3 separate regions of the Homo sapiens genome follow, and regions 1 and 2 are each linked to region 3. The links are contacts of gene promoters, found by promoter capture Hi-C in blood cells and fetal thymus (Javierre and others, 2016). All regions are on one chromosome and are shown on one strand. The core of a region is centred on a gene start or on the middle of the fragment in contact, and the rest is flanking DNA. Distances in the headings are between cores, read along the strand shown. Region 1 overlaps SRP68 (signal recognition particle 68). Region 2 has its middle 8.0 kb from the start of EVPL. Region 3 holds the start of RNF157 (ring finger protein 157).

What was found. The method cuts DNA at HindIII sites, captures the fragments that hold promoters and counts their contacts. A CHiCAGO score of 5 or more calls a contact.
Region 1: a fragment that was not itself captured here is called in contact with the fragment with the promoter of RNF157 in region 3 in 1 of 17 cell types (endothelial precursors); the score reaches 5.0 in endothelial precursors.
Region 2: a contact is called between a fragment that was not itself captured here and the fragment with the promoter of RNF157 in region 3, in 1 of 17 cell types (endothelial precursors). The highest score is 5.1, in endothelial precursors.

The regions. Positions count from the first base shown.
Region 1 is chr17:76,048,289-76,052,728 of GRCh38, forward strand. It overlaps SRP68 (signal recognition particle 68), which reads right to left. Exons shown (of 16, transcript NM_014230.4): 9 at 2,140-2,238. Among named protein-coding and RNA genes, the nearest start is that of SRP68, 22 kb to the right of the region's middle. The HindIII fragment of the contact is 2,312 bases long and covers 975-3,286 here.
Region 2 is chr17:76,032,974-76,037,609 of GRCh38, forward strand. No RefSeq gene overlaps it. Among named protein-coding and RNA genes, the nearest start is that of EVPL, 8.0 kb to the left of the region's middle. RefSeq lists an enhancer at 1,022-1,629 and a silencer at 3,735-4,029. The HindIII fragment of the contact is 7,176 bases long and covers 1-4,636 here.
Region 3 is chr17:76,236,751-76,241,742 of GRCh38, forward strand. It overlaps RNF157 (ring finger protein 157), which reads right to left and starts at 3,743. Exons shown (of 19, transcript NM_052916.3): 1 at 3,403-3,743. The coding sequence starts at 3,490. LOC105371896 (a long non-coding RNA gene) reads right to left here. Exons shown (of 6, transcript XR_007065913.1): 6 at 4,112-4,992. RefSeq lists an enhancer at 2,711-3,383 and silencers at 3,688-3,827, 3,848-3,917. The HindIII fragment of the contact is 1,725 bases long and covers 2,880-4,604 here.

The DNA of each region.
Region 1 (4,440 bases), core at 881-3,380, 190 kb before region 3:
AAGGTCTGTGCCACAGATCCCAGTTCCACCCCTTGTGCTGTCAGAGTGTGCCTTTTGTGGCTGGCCGAATAACATACGCCAGAGCTGTCTATATGCTAGCCTCCGTGCAATCTGGGAAGATGTTACCATATATGGTAAAAGAGACTCTACAGATGTGATTAAATTAGGGATCTCTGAATTATCTGGGTGGGTCCAATGTCATCCCAGGGTCCTGAGAAGAGGGAGGCAGATGGGTCAGAGATGCAGAAGATGAAGGAACGGAAGCAGAGGGGAGAGGAGCTGATCGCTTTGAAGCACAAACGGAGAGCCACAAGCCAAGGACTACAGGCAGCCGCTAGAAGCCAGGAGATGCATTCTTGGGAATACTGGAAAAGGATTCCCCTAGGGTTTCTAAAGGAACACAGCCCTGTGAACCCACTAGATTTCTGACCTCGAGAAGCGTAAGATAATACATTTGGATCATCTTAAACCATCAAGTTTGTGGTTAATATGATCGCAGCAACAGGAAATGAATGCGCCTTTGCGGCATCACATTCCTTACATTCTGTGAGGTGTCTCCCAACTGCTATGCATTCAAGGTGAATGACAGTGACAGGGGCTGGGACTCTGTAGGCACCTCTGTTAAGTCGATGAAGGGAAGCACAATACATAAAGGCAGCCTAACGGGGCAAGGAAGCAGGTGACTCCTTAGAGAAAGCAGTGATTCAAAACAAAGTTTATACTCAAGGCTTTGTGGCAGATGCTGAAAAAAAAATAGTTGCTAGGCAACGAAGTTATTGTTGTTTAATGGGTTCAGCGTTTCAGTTTTACAAAATGCAGAGAGTTCTGGAGATGGACTGTTGGTGATGGTTGTACGTTATGAATGCATTTAATTACCACTGAACCATACACTTAAAAATGGTTAAGGTTTTATGTTTAACGTTTTTTACCACAATAAAGTTTTTATGAAGAGGTAATACTTAATTAACTATCAAAGCTTATAGCTGCAAGTATCAGATATTTAGAAACTGCAGAGATCTCTGTGGGCTAGGATGGTGCAGGCATATGCTTTTCAGAAATGGTAAGCTATGAGCTGGACCTTGAAAAACAGATGGGGTTTGGACAGGTGAAGAGGGGCAGGAAAGATTACCCAAGTGTGCGGAGGGAGGGGAATGAGAACAGTGTAACACACGGGGTGGGAAAGGCATTACTGAGATGCCAGTAAGTGGAACAGCTTGAGGCAGAGGACTCAGAAGGATGCAGTGAAGTACAAGGCTGGGAACAGACTAAGGAAGGCTTGTACACCAGCTCAAGTCTGAACTGAGAGGCCAGTGGTCTCTAAGTAGGGCGCATAAAACCCAGGGAGTCTGGGTATGAAACGAAAATTAGAATTTCTATTTCTATTTATCTCATTCAAAAAAGCCCTTATTTTAATGCAGTTTATATATGACAAATTAGTCAAATAATAAGCTATATAATTCATAAATAAATGCATCAGTGGTGCAGGCTCAATGCTGCCTATGGGGTTTATCAGCATAAAAGTTTGGAGGCCATTGCTCAATCCCTAGAGGAAATCACTGGGCTTTTTAAAATTAGACAGGGAAACTAGATTTAGAAAGATTCCATTTGTACTTTGCGAAAGAAAGGCCTGGAGAAGGGAACCGAGACCAAGCCAGAAGAAGCAATTAGGAGACCTTTGCGGTTGCCTAGGCACACGAGAAAAGGCTAATAGAAACAGGTGAAGCAACAATAGGCAAGAGGCCCTGCAAAGGGAGAAGAAGGTGGGTTTGGTGACAGGGACAAAAGAGACAAATAGATCTGAGGTTTTCAGCCTAGATGCCTGAATCAACCACAGGGATAGTGTTTTCAGAAAAGGGAGGCACTGGAGAAGTCCACCTGGAGACAGAATTGGAGGCCACAGGCTTCACAGGCCATATAGGAAACCATTAGGAGGAACAGGGGAGGGAGAAATTAATTTCTCAATGTGATGGAGCCCAGAGGCCCTTGTTTGCTCCCTTACGACCTCACCTCAAAAAAACAAAAACGAAACAGTGGCCAAGCGAGCAGTGCACTCAGAGCACTGGGGTCCACCTGAGAAGGGGACACAGGCTGACCTGGACCCGCCCAGAGCAAGAACCAGGGCTCGGCTGAGGGTCCTACCTGATCTGGCTTGAGCTCCTCCCGAACCACCTGGATGGCGTCCCGACACTCGCTGAGCATTGATTCAAACAGGCGCTCCTTAGTTTCTTCGCTTTCAGCCTAAACAAGGGCAGATCAAAGTAAGAGACTTTCCTTTGAGCAAACCATAGTCACCTAATGGGAGAGGAGCAAAATCGCACATGGAGTCCCCCAACCACACACTCACTCACGCACGCCACACCAGATATCATTTTAATTGTTACTGTTCTCTACCATATAATGGTTTCTCATAGCCTTAGTCATTCATTATTCATATGGAAAGGGGAGTTCTATTTTTAAAAGCAAACATGCTGAAAAAGCTGTCTGCATAACTGATCTGAGACTTAGCAAAGGCTTTACGTCTCTTCCCAGCACAGCTTCCTGCTACTTCCCTGCAGCGCTTCACCCTCTGCTCAGGACCTGGCACCCCTTGAGGGGCCTTACAGACTGGACTTGGGACACTCTACACTGAAGCACAGCACACCAGAACTTTCCTTATCTTTTCCTTCCAGAACAAACTTGTCAAGCTCTACTGTATGCCAACACAATTACCTTTTACAAATGTGACCCAACTCAAAGATTGTTTCTTTTAGGTACAAGGAAATAATAAAAAAGACTAATCAATACCCACCAAAAAGACAGTTCTCCTAAATATCACACTAAGTTCTTTTCGCCACAGACGTGCTGCACTCAGATATTCCACATGACTACTCTGAGAACAATTTTTAGGACATACAAGGTTGACACGCATGAGACGACAGTCTTTGCACAAGTACTGGGTGTCACCTGTCTGCTACACAGCTAGGGTAAGTGAGAAAGTGATTCACTAACTGAATACCTGCCAAGCCACATTATCGTCCCAAAGAATCTGACCGAGCAGATAGAAATGGACAAAAGGCAGAAAGGGGATGAACCTGTGTGACTGGCAGACCCACTGTGAAATTAAAACATCAACATTCCATTATGGTATTTGACTTCCCATAGAAATTAACACTCAATCTGAAAAAATGTGTTAATATTCAACTGACCTCTAAGAAAGCTCAAACGAAAACCCAGTGCTGCCCACCCCTTTAAGAGATGGTTGGGGGAACAGGGGCTTAAAGAAAAACCCTTTTTCTTCTCTTAAGAAAGCTTTTCTTAAAAGTTCTCTTAAGAATCTATTTCTTCTCTTTTCTTAGTCTCCAGTGTGAAAAAAAAAATCTTCCTTGTAACTTACCCAATACAAATCAAACATACTTTTCCACTTATAAGTTACTTGACTTTCCTGTTGTTCACTAACTTGGGAACGAACTGGGGCTCATTCATGCTATAAATCTAGTAAAGCAAACACGGCCACCATTCACTCCTGGAACCACCAGAGCAGCACCATCCAATAGAACTCTCTGCCACGGGCAATGTCCTCTACGTGCACCGTCCAATGAACACCTGAGCACTCGGAAGTTTTATTAATTTATCTATCTTTTTATTATTTTATGTTTTTGAGACAGAGTCTTGCTCTGCTACCCAGGCTGGAGTATAGTGCCGTGATCTCGTCTCACTGTAACCACCGCCTCCTGGGTTCATGAGATTCTCCTGCCTCAGCCTCCGGAGTAGCTGGGACTACAGGTGCCCGCCACCACGCCTGGCTATTTCACCATGTTGGCCAGGCTGGTCTCGAACTCCTGACCTCAGGTGATCCACCTGTCTTGGCCTCCCAAAGTGCTGGGGTTACAGGCAGGAGCCACAGAGCCTGGCTGGAAGTTTTATTAATTTAAATTTCAATAACCACATGTGTTGAGCGGCTACTGCACTGGACAGTGCAGCACTGGAGCACATGCTTTATAGAATATTGTTGGCCGACCCCAGGTTGGCAAGATTCTTTAGAATCACTTCGTCAACCTTACTGGCCTAATTTTTCAAAGTACAAATCTGTGGAATGGTGCCGCCATATAATACTCAGCAACTGGAATAAGATACATAAGTCTAGAGTGCTTAAAAACTCGAGTAAGACATGTGAATGGCAGGGGGTGGGAGGCAAGGGGAGGGAAAGTATTAGGACAAATACCTAATGCACACAGGGCTTAAAACCTAGATGATGGGCTGGGCGCGGTGGCTCACGCCTGTAATCCCAGCACTTTGGGAGGCTGAGGCGGGCGGATCACGAGCTCAGGAGATCGAGACCATCCTGGCTAACACGATGAAACCCCGTCTCTACTAAAAATACAAAAAATTAGCTGGGCATGGTGGTGGGCACCTGTAGTCCCAGCTACTAGGGAGGCTGAGGCAGGAGAATGGCGTGAACCC
Region 2 (4,636 bases), core at 184-2,683, 210 kb before region 3:
TTGCCTAACCAGACAAGAGTGGGGAGGAACAGGTGCTAGTGATTCCTTTTGGGACTTTTACGGGGAAGGTTTAGAGGAAGCAACTACCAAAACTCCAAAAAACAGAAAACAACCAAATCTTGTGTGTGTTAAGAGAGCAGGCAGGATTCCTCATACTAAATGGCAAGAAAGAGAACATAGAGGGAACCCCTGGAATCCTCAAAACCAAGGCTGCCTTAGGGTATCTGTCCCTCCCTCTGAACCATCCCCTTTCCCTGGGAGAAAGGGGACCCACAGCACCAGCCCCAGTTCAGCTGTAGGACTGATGCTGGTGCAGCCCACTCCCCAGCCCCTGCAGCCATCTCGTGCATGAGCCATCCCTGCATTCCAGAAGTCTGCAGCCCAGCCAGTCTTACTCAGGAACTGGTAGGCCCAAGGGCTCTGGGCCTCTCTGCCACCTTTAAGATAATAGCTGTCCTTACTAGCTAGGTCCGGGGACCTGCAGCCCTATTTTGGAGAAGTGCGGATGTGACGGAGGCAGCCAGCTAACTGTCCATGCCAAGATAATGACCTGCGTTGCCGCTTGAGAAAATGTCCCACCGGCTGCACCACAGCAGCAGGGGTCTGGTGGCATCTGGCACTGTTCACTGTTCAGAGGGAGAAAAAGGTTTATAAAACAGACAAACATGAAAACGAAGGAACAAGAAGTTCTCATAGCTGCCTGATTTGTCTCTATTGTCAGGAAGCTGGAAAGGGGAGGTTAAACCACCCAGCACAGACAGCAGCTAGTCAGACCCAAACTATTGTCTGAATGGCATTGCATAGACTTAGGAGGACTTCCTGGGAAGGGGAAGACAAGGACGCAGGCTGGCTGAGTGGAAGGCTCTCTCAGCTATGTGTACCCATCGACTCAGGGTACAGCAGCCCACACTGTCTTGGGGTCTGGGCTCAGAACATTTTGGGGGAACCTCCTCACTGTCTCCTCCCAGCAACTTTGAGACGCAGCCGCCCCTGTTGTACAGGAGCTGGAGTGTGCTCAGAGGCAATGGACTAGTCAGTGTGGGGCAGGGATCCAGGAGCTCGGAGGACCCTGGGCACCTGCTCTCTCTGCCTCACACCTCTTCTTAGGCAGCATGGGAGGCACTGCCTGGTGAGGCCTTTGCACAGCCACGTCTGTCTCCATTCCACAGATGAGCCGCAGCTAACGTTACTCAGCTTTCACTGGCCCAGGTACCTGCCCGTCATAGCTGGATTGCTAGGTCAGAAGATCCCTGGGGAAGCACTTTGGGGGGCCGAAGCTGCGGATCACCTGAGGTCAGGAGTTCGAGACCAGCCTATCCAACTTGGTGAAACCTCGTCTCTACTAAAAATACAAAAATTAGCTGAGCATGGTGGCACATGCCTGTAATCCCAGCTACTCAGGAGGCTGAGGCAGGAGAATCACTTGAACCCGGGAGGCAGAGGTTGCAGTAAGCTGAGATCGTGCCATTGCACTCCAGTGTGGGCAACAAGAGTGAAACCTCATCTTGGAATAATAATAATAATAATACTTCTACTGGATGCTTGTAGAGCCCCTCACTCTGTGCCAGATGGTGCTCAGAGCAGAGGGTGGACCCAGAGGCCAGGGCCTATCTACTGTGTGCAACCCGCACAGCCTGCCACCCCAGCTGGCCCTGGGCGGTGCCCCCAGCCACAGCCCCTCCCAGGTCCTCCTCCCAAGTGTCTCTAACATCTAACAGAATAACAGGTTGGATTCTTCCAGTTGGTGTTGTCAGGATGCAGGCAATTTCCAATTTATTCTCTTTGCTTTGGAACATCGATAAATTTTACAGCTAAATCTGCTTTCCATCTCCTCTGTAGCAACAACTGTCTTCAAACAAAAAATTAGAACCAACACATATTTTTGCTATCTTTGGATATTTTCCTAGACCTCTAAATGTCCCAGGCTTTTCAAGGCTGCAGACAGAATTGTGCTGTTTAGAATTCTGTGATCAGTTGGCTTTTTTGTGTGTGACTAACGACACCTCGTATGTGAAAAATTAGCGCTGCCACAGCGATGACAGTGAACAGAGCACAGTCCCACCCTCAAAGCCCCTGGCGTTGGCCTTCCTCTCCTAGAGGGGGTGAAGCCTCTGCCTCAGCTTTTGGGAGGAAAGTCCTGGCTCTGGCCCAGAGCCGCTATGGGTTGAGGATGGCCTGTCATCACAGGCTGTCACCTTGTGCTTGTGGTGACAGGCTCAGGTTGCCACCAGGGGAAGGGGTCGGAACCAAGCCCAGCACCGTTTCATTTCAAAGAGGGAATCCAAGAGTTCTCACTGATTTAATGTAAAACCAGAGAGGAGACAGCAAATCCAAACAACATTCGGGAAGAGAGGAACAGGCCAGGAGACCCAGCAGCAAAGGCCAGTGCCATCCTCAGCCACCTCGTGCTCCTGACCCTCACCCAGCAGGCCTGGTGGGGCTTGCCTGGAACAGAGAATAGAAACTATGATCACATAGGCCAGGCGTGGTGGCTGACGCCTGTAATCCCAGCACCTTGGGAGGCTGAGGCGGGTGGATCACGAGGTCAGGCATTTGAGACCAACCTGGCCAATAGAGTAAAACCCCATCTCTACTAAAAATACAAAAAATTAGCTAGGCGTGGTGGCGCATGTCTGTAATCCCAGCTACTCGGAAGGCTGAGGCAGGAGAATCGCTTGAATGGGAGGCGGAGGTTGCAGTCAGCCAAGATCACACCACTGCTCTCCAGCCCGGGCGACAGTGTCAGACTCCATCTCAAAAAAAGAAAAGCCCAGGTGCGGTGGCTCATGCCTGTAATCCCAGCACTTTGGGAGGCTGAGGCGGGTAGATCATGAGGTCAGGAGTTTGAGACCAACCTGGCCAAAATGGTGAAATCCCCATCTCTACTAAAAATACAAAAATTAGCTGGGCGTGGTGGTGGCCACCTGTAATCCCAGCTACTCGGGAGGCTGAGGCAGGAGAATTGCTTGAACCTGGGAGGTGGAGTGAGCCGAGATTACACCACTGCACTCCAGCCTAGGCGACAGAGCGAGACTCCATCTCAAAAAAAAAAAAAAAAAAAAAAAAAAAGGACAGAAACCACGACCACGACCACATCCACAGCAGACCTAGGGCAGGCTTTAAAAGTATGAGACCGGGCCAGGCGTGGTGACTCATGCCTGTAATCCCAGCACTTTGGGAGGTCGAGGCAGGTGGATCACTTGAGGCCAGGAGTTCGAGACCAGCCTGCCCAACACGGTGAAACTCCGCCTCTACTAAAAATACAAATATTAGCTGGGCATGATGGCACGCACCTGTAGTCCCAGCTACTTGGGAGATTGAGGCAGGAGAATCGCTTGAACCTGGGAGGCGGAGGCTGCAGTGAGCTGAGATCGTGCCACTGCACTCCAGCCTGGGTGACAAGAGTGAGACTGTCTCTAAATAAATAAATAAATAAAAGTATAAGGGGACTGAATGGAGCTCTCTTCGTCCTCTCTTGATGTTGGAGACAGAAGCCTCCTCCAGGGTCAGAGCTTGCTGACAGCACCAGAGTCCATCCTGGAGGAGGGACTGGAGCCAGCACAACACGGGAACACCCACTTGGAACAGACCCATTCGCGGCCCCCGGGGCCTCATCTGCATGTCCTGCCCCGTGGGAAGGCAGGACTGTGTGGCCTCCGAAGTGTCTTTTTGTGAAAACCCCCAGCGAACAGCCTGCAGGGCCCAGGGGCAGTGAGGGCCTGACTTGAAACCTGCTCCCATCAGAGGCAGAGCCACTTCCCAGGGCCTGAGGACAGGAGGGGGTCCTGCATCTGGCGCTCTGTCCCCCACGACACAGCCTGCTTAATGTCCAGGAATCCCATGTGAAGGGATGTGCAAGCTCGCCGGAGACCTTGGCCCTGCCAGATCTGTCTTCTTATGTAAACACCTGCTTTTAATACTAAACAGCATCACTGGCCGTTAACAGCCAATGCTGCTCAGAGCGCCTGGCAGGAGCACCGGGAGGAATGGAATTTGTAGTGTGGCCGCGAGACAAAGCATTAGGCAACCTGAGAAGGAAAAGGTGCAGTTGGGATTCGCCTCCATCTCTAGTTTATAGGTCCTGGGTCCCCACTGAGGCCAGCACTCTAGAGTGGGAGGGGCTGGGAGGGCTGTGGGAAGGACAAAGGGACATCTTCCAGGAGGATGAGCGGTTCCCCATGCCCGTCCCCCTCACGATGCTGCAGGCAACGGCCTGAGACTGCAGCACAGCAGGGCCTGCAATTGGGTTCTTGGAGCTGGAGGACAGCGTGGCTGTCAGCACAGAGACGAGACAAGGGAGGTGCAGAATCTTGGCCCATGGCCCTGGGAGGAGGATGAGGACATGGATGAAGACCCCCTAACCCCCAAATCGTGGTTCCTCAGCCCGCAGGGACGCTGACCTGATCAAAACCCAGGACCTCAACCTGAGACCAGTCATCTGTGCTATATATATTTTTCTTTTAAAAAAGTTTTTTTGGTAGAGACAAGGTCTCACCATGTTGCCCAGGCTGGTCTCGAACTTCTGGCCTCAAGTGATCTGCCTGCCTTGGCCTCTCAAAGTGCTGGGATTACAGGCGTAAGCCACTGTGTCCAGCCTATCTGTGCTATATTTTCAGAAGGGGTGAGGATAGTCCTA
Region 3 (4,992 bases), core at 2,493-4,992:
AAAGATGGCATATGCATGCAGAGGAATACTATATAGTTGTTAAAAAGCACAAAGAAACTTATCAAATATGAGACAATATAAAAAGATCTCCAATATCTCTGAAAGCAAACAGAGCAAGGTGTAGAACAGTCTAATAGCATGCTATGCTTGCATTTACACAAGAAACTCTAAAAGAATTCCAAAGAAACCAAAAGTGGTTACATGGGATGGGAGGTTTAGAGGGAGGAAGGAGAACCAGGTGGATGGACAACAGCGGTGAGAACAAGGCTTTCACTGTACACGTTTTCATTCTTTTAAAGTTTGAACCGTGTGACTATATTACCTATTCAAAAATAAATAATTCTAAATAATTTAGGCTATTTATTTCTATCTACCTCTATTTAAGGATAGAAAAAAGCTACAAACCCAAGTCTCAACTTGAAATCTGCCATTCTTGATAGGATTTAAATGTTTGTTTCAATGTGCATACAAAACTAAGAAGTTCCATTAAATATACTAAGAAAAAAGCAATTTCAGCTGGACACTGTGACCGTCATTACAAGGACAGATGATGGTGCTTCTTTCCGAAACAACTGTTCCACCGGCAGTGCAGGTCTAGCCGCTTTCCAGCGAGCCAGATAGTGGTCTCAACTTAACACTCAAACTACAAGGTATGTCATCTGGAGAAAGCTGACTCTGCCACTTGCTTTGTTCCACTGTTAGTACTCAGGATAAGGAGACTTCTCAAAATCAACCCAGGTTGATTCCTCTATAGGGACTTCAATTATGACACGAAATAGCCTTCATTCCATAATCATGGAATGATTGTTTTAAGTCTTGTTTTTTGAGTACAAGTTCAAAACCCAATTCCTTGAGAGGTGGAGGCAGACAGTATAGTAGGAAGAACACTAACTGGCTGAGAGACCCTGGCCATACCAATTCATTTCTCTGGGTCTCCATTTTCTTATCAGTGAAATGAATGGGAGGCCAAGGCGGGAGGATTGCTTGAGACCACGAGTTCAAGACCAGCCTGGGCAACATAGTGAGAGAGTGTCTCTACAAAAAACTTGCCTGGGCGTGGTAGCTCACACCCGTAATCCCAGCACTTTGGGAGGCCGAGGCAGGCGGATCACCTGAGAGGTCAGGAGTTCAAGACTTGCCTGGCCAATATGGTGAAACCCCATCTCCACTAAAAATACAAACAATTAGCCGGGTGTGGTGGCAAACACCTGTAATCCCAGCTACTTGGGAGACTGAGGCGGGAGAATTGCTTGAACCCTAGAGGCAGAGGTTGCAGTAAGCCAATATTGCACCACTTCATTCCAGCCTGGGCGTGACAGAGAGAGACGATGACTCAAAAAAAAAAAAAAAAAATTAAACATTAGCTAGGCATGGTGGTCATGGCCAAACTCTGTCAACGGTTCCTTTCAGGACTAATACTGTAATCCCATAAAGAGCCAGGTCAATTCAAAGATCAGAAGAAAGGCGATGCCTCCGTCTAGAGCATATATGCAAGCTCACATAAGGTTTCAAATACACAAAGGTTTGCTGACAGAGACAGGATGTTCTGATTCTATTTTCTATGTTTTAGCTTCAACAGAAATAATGTGGTCCACTTGCTATAAAGACTTCTCTCATGTATAACTTCTGATTTAACATGAATTACAGTTTTACAGTTAAACTTTTAAAACTGGTAGAGAGGAGAGGATTATTTATTGAGTGTGCTAATTAACAAAAGTTTTGGTTTGGTCTATTGTCTTTTTATTATCATCACCCAAGATTCATACTTGTACAAATATGCTTTGGGGAACAGCCTTCCAGAGGTTTACCTATGTTAAGTCCCACATATGAAAGAGCGGTGAATACTTTCCTGAGGCAGCAAACACTATTGAAAATTCCAAGCTCAGCAAAGTATGCTCCATATTTTGATCAATAAAAGCCATGTGGTTTAAGAAAAACAGAGCCCACAAATACTGCTGCATATTTTTGTCTATTTTAAAAAGTTTTCCTCATGCCGCCCTAAGAATATTTTTGTCTATTAAAAAACAAAATCTATGCCTTGGTTAGCGTTGATTTTATGTAGTCATAATCAGTCAGAGCTTTATTAAAATACTAACGACCCACAGCTTTATCTTAGACCTTTCTAAAACAATTCTTCACCATATTCATCTTTGCAAGGATTCATTCTTTGGTACAAAAGCAGTGAGAAACACAGCTCTGGCAGACACTCTGCAGGGATGCGGGCAGGTTCATCGTCTGGCCCCTGCTTTCACCTGGCAGACACTGGACACACTGCTGAGAAACCAGCTCATCTCAGTATGTCTCTATTCTACCAAAAAGAGACGAGGCTCTGCTCCAATTCTGACACCTCATTCCGAAATCACCAAAATCTCCATCGGGTCCTAAGCAGACAGAATGTCGCAGCCATTCATCCTCAGAAGTCTTGAGAATAAAATTAAAAGTAATTAATTAAAATAAAACTACTTGCAATTAAAAGTAAACACCGGCTAGGTCATGCAATTCATACTGGCCGGTGCTCACATAACTGAACTACCTTGTGATTCTCTGCTTTGCTGTCAAAATCCTCCTCCACCTCCAATGCTGATACCACAATCCAGAGGCTAGAGACATTTAAGTGAAGGGATGATTCTAATAACAAACATACTTCTATACGTTTCCAATACCTCTGCCCTGTCCCAGAGCTGGTCCCACTCCAAAACCCAGGCTTGCCACTACGCTAGCAAAGGGGCAATCCGAGTAACTCTGATACTCAGATTCCCAAACATTTCTGTTACTTTCCACCACCACCACCCCCCCCACCCCCCGGCTTCTGACAGCCTCTGCAAAAGCACCAGCACTGCAAATGCCTGTTTGGCTTCCATCCTTCAGCAGGCAATGGAAGCTTTTCCAGGAGAAACCTAATTCTAACCTTTCCAGAGGCCAGGAGACGGCAGCGCAGGGATAGCACCTGGCGCAAGTGCCTGTTTGGATGCCGAGGTCGCCTCCCTCGCGGCCCTCGGACCCCGCGAGGCAGGTAGGCTTTGGGCCGGGCCGGCCGGGTCCGTGCGGGGCGCCGACCTCGCCTACGACGCCGCAGCCCCGCTCCCCAGGAGCCTCGGTCCCTGCGGGCACGCGTCCCCGTCACGGGGCCGATTACAATGGAGGCCGCTCCCGTCCTCCCGTGGAGGGGCTCGGTGCCCTCGGTGACCCTGCTAGACCCGGCAGGACGCCCCTTGGGCTAATTCGCCCGGGGCGGGGGAGACCTCGGCCTTCTCGAAGACCTCCCGCGCTCGAAGACCGTTTCGGAGCGTCCGCAACCACTGAGTCCCCGAAGACCCGCGGGGCCCCCTCAGGCCGTCCCGACCCAGACCCCTGCCCCTGCCCCTCTCCCTCCTCGCGGCTGCGGCGCCCGCCCGCCCTCACCGGACTTGGGCGGGTAGCGGTACACGGAATTAGACGGGATGTCCACCTCCTCCACGCCCGCGTGCTGCCGGCTCGTCAGGGCCCCCATGGCCGCTGCGGCTGCAGCCCCGGCCCGGCCCCGGTGCCCGCGCCGCCCTCCGCGCTTCACCGCGGCCGCCCGCCCCGCGCCCGGTGCGGGGGCCGACTGCCCGCCGCGGCCGGCTCCGCTGCGGCGCTGCGGCTCTGGCGGCGGGGAGCCCCCGGCGCGCCGCGCACCATCCTCCGCCGGGCACCGCGGCGGCGCCTCTGCCAAGGGGGCTGCGGGTCTGGGCCGGGGGCGCCGCCGCCGCCTCAGGCCGCGTGATGTCAGCGGCCGCTCCGCGCGGGGACCGCGGCGGCCCCAGCCAATGGCGAGGCGGGGCGGGAGCGCCCGCGCCGGAGCAGCCAATGAGCGCGGGACTGCAGCAGGAGCCGGCGGCGCGTGCCTCGCGCGGGGAGCCGCGGCTGGACTCGGCGCGCGTGGACGCGGCCCAGGGCCTCGCGGCGGGGGCGTGGGCGTGGGCGGGGACTCGCGACGGGGACGGGGGCGCGGCCGGGTGCCCGCGGCGGGGCGGGGCGGGACCGGCCGGAGCTGGGACCCCAGGAGACGAGCGCTGCACCCGGCCGGGACGCGTCGCCCCTCCGCGCCTGTTTATCCCGGCTCGGATTACCGCGCAGGGAGCCGCCCCCTCCCGCGGTCCGCGAGGACTGGCCGGGAGCTCGCTCGCCATTGTCCTGGGCGTCCCAAAGCGGGCGGTCCCCGCTCCGCTGCTCCCGCGCCTGGAGGAAGCCTTCCCAACCCCGCCCCTCAGCGTCGGCCGGCGGAGGTCTTCGGAAATCTCATGCAGGGGGGTAGGGAGAGGGGTCCCACGGTGCATTCGCATGTCTCCTGCCCCGTGTTAATGCTGGTGACCGGCTAGGAAGATGCCGCCTCCCTCTCACGTGCGTCTATTCAAAGCGCTCCCAACTCTATACATGCTGTTTAAGGCTCCTTGTAGCCCTAAAGTTAGGAGAACATCGACTGAGGATAAGATCAAGACATCCAGCCTCTGTCTGTATCGTGGAAACGGGACCCCGGAAACTTTGGAAAGGCCTGAGTGCCAAGAGAGTCAACGCAGGCGAAAGCGAACCGGGCCAGGCAGAACCGGGAGCTCCTGTTGATAAAAACACACACAACAGTGGGAAGCTTGGGCCGGCGGAAGACGTCATTCCATTGCTTAATTACAGACATTTGTGTTTTAAACCTTCTATTTTCTTTGTGGGTCTGGTGTTTTTTTTCCTGAGAGAGTGGACTGATCAGCAAACATTTCAACTGCTAGAACATGACTTTCACAACTTTTCAACAGTGTTCGAAGTACAGTTTGGGGTGTCTGGTTCCCTTGATTAGGTTTGTAAAGCTATTTTACGGAGTCTAGGTCTTTCCTGGTTATATTTTGTTTTTGTTTTTCTGTGTTTTGAGACGGAGTCTCCCTCTGTCGCCCAGGCTGGAGTGCAGTGGCGTGATCTCAGCTCACTGCAACCTCCGCCTCCTGGGTTCAAGGGATTCTCCTGCCTCAGCCTCCCGAGTAGCTG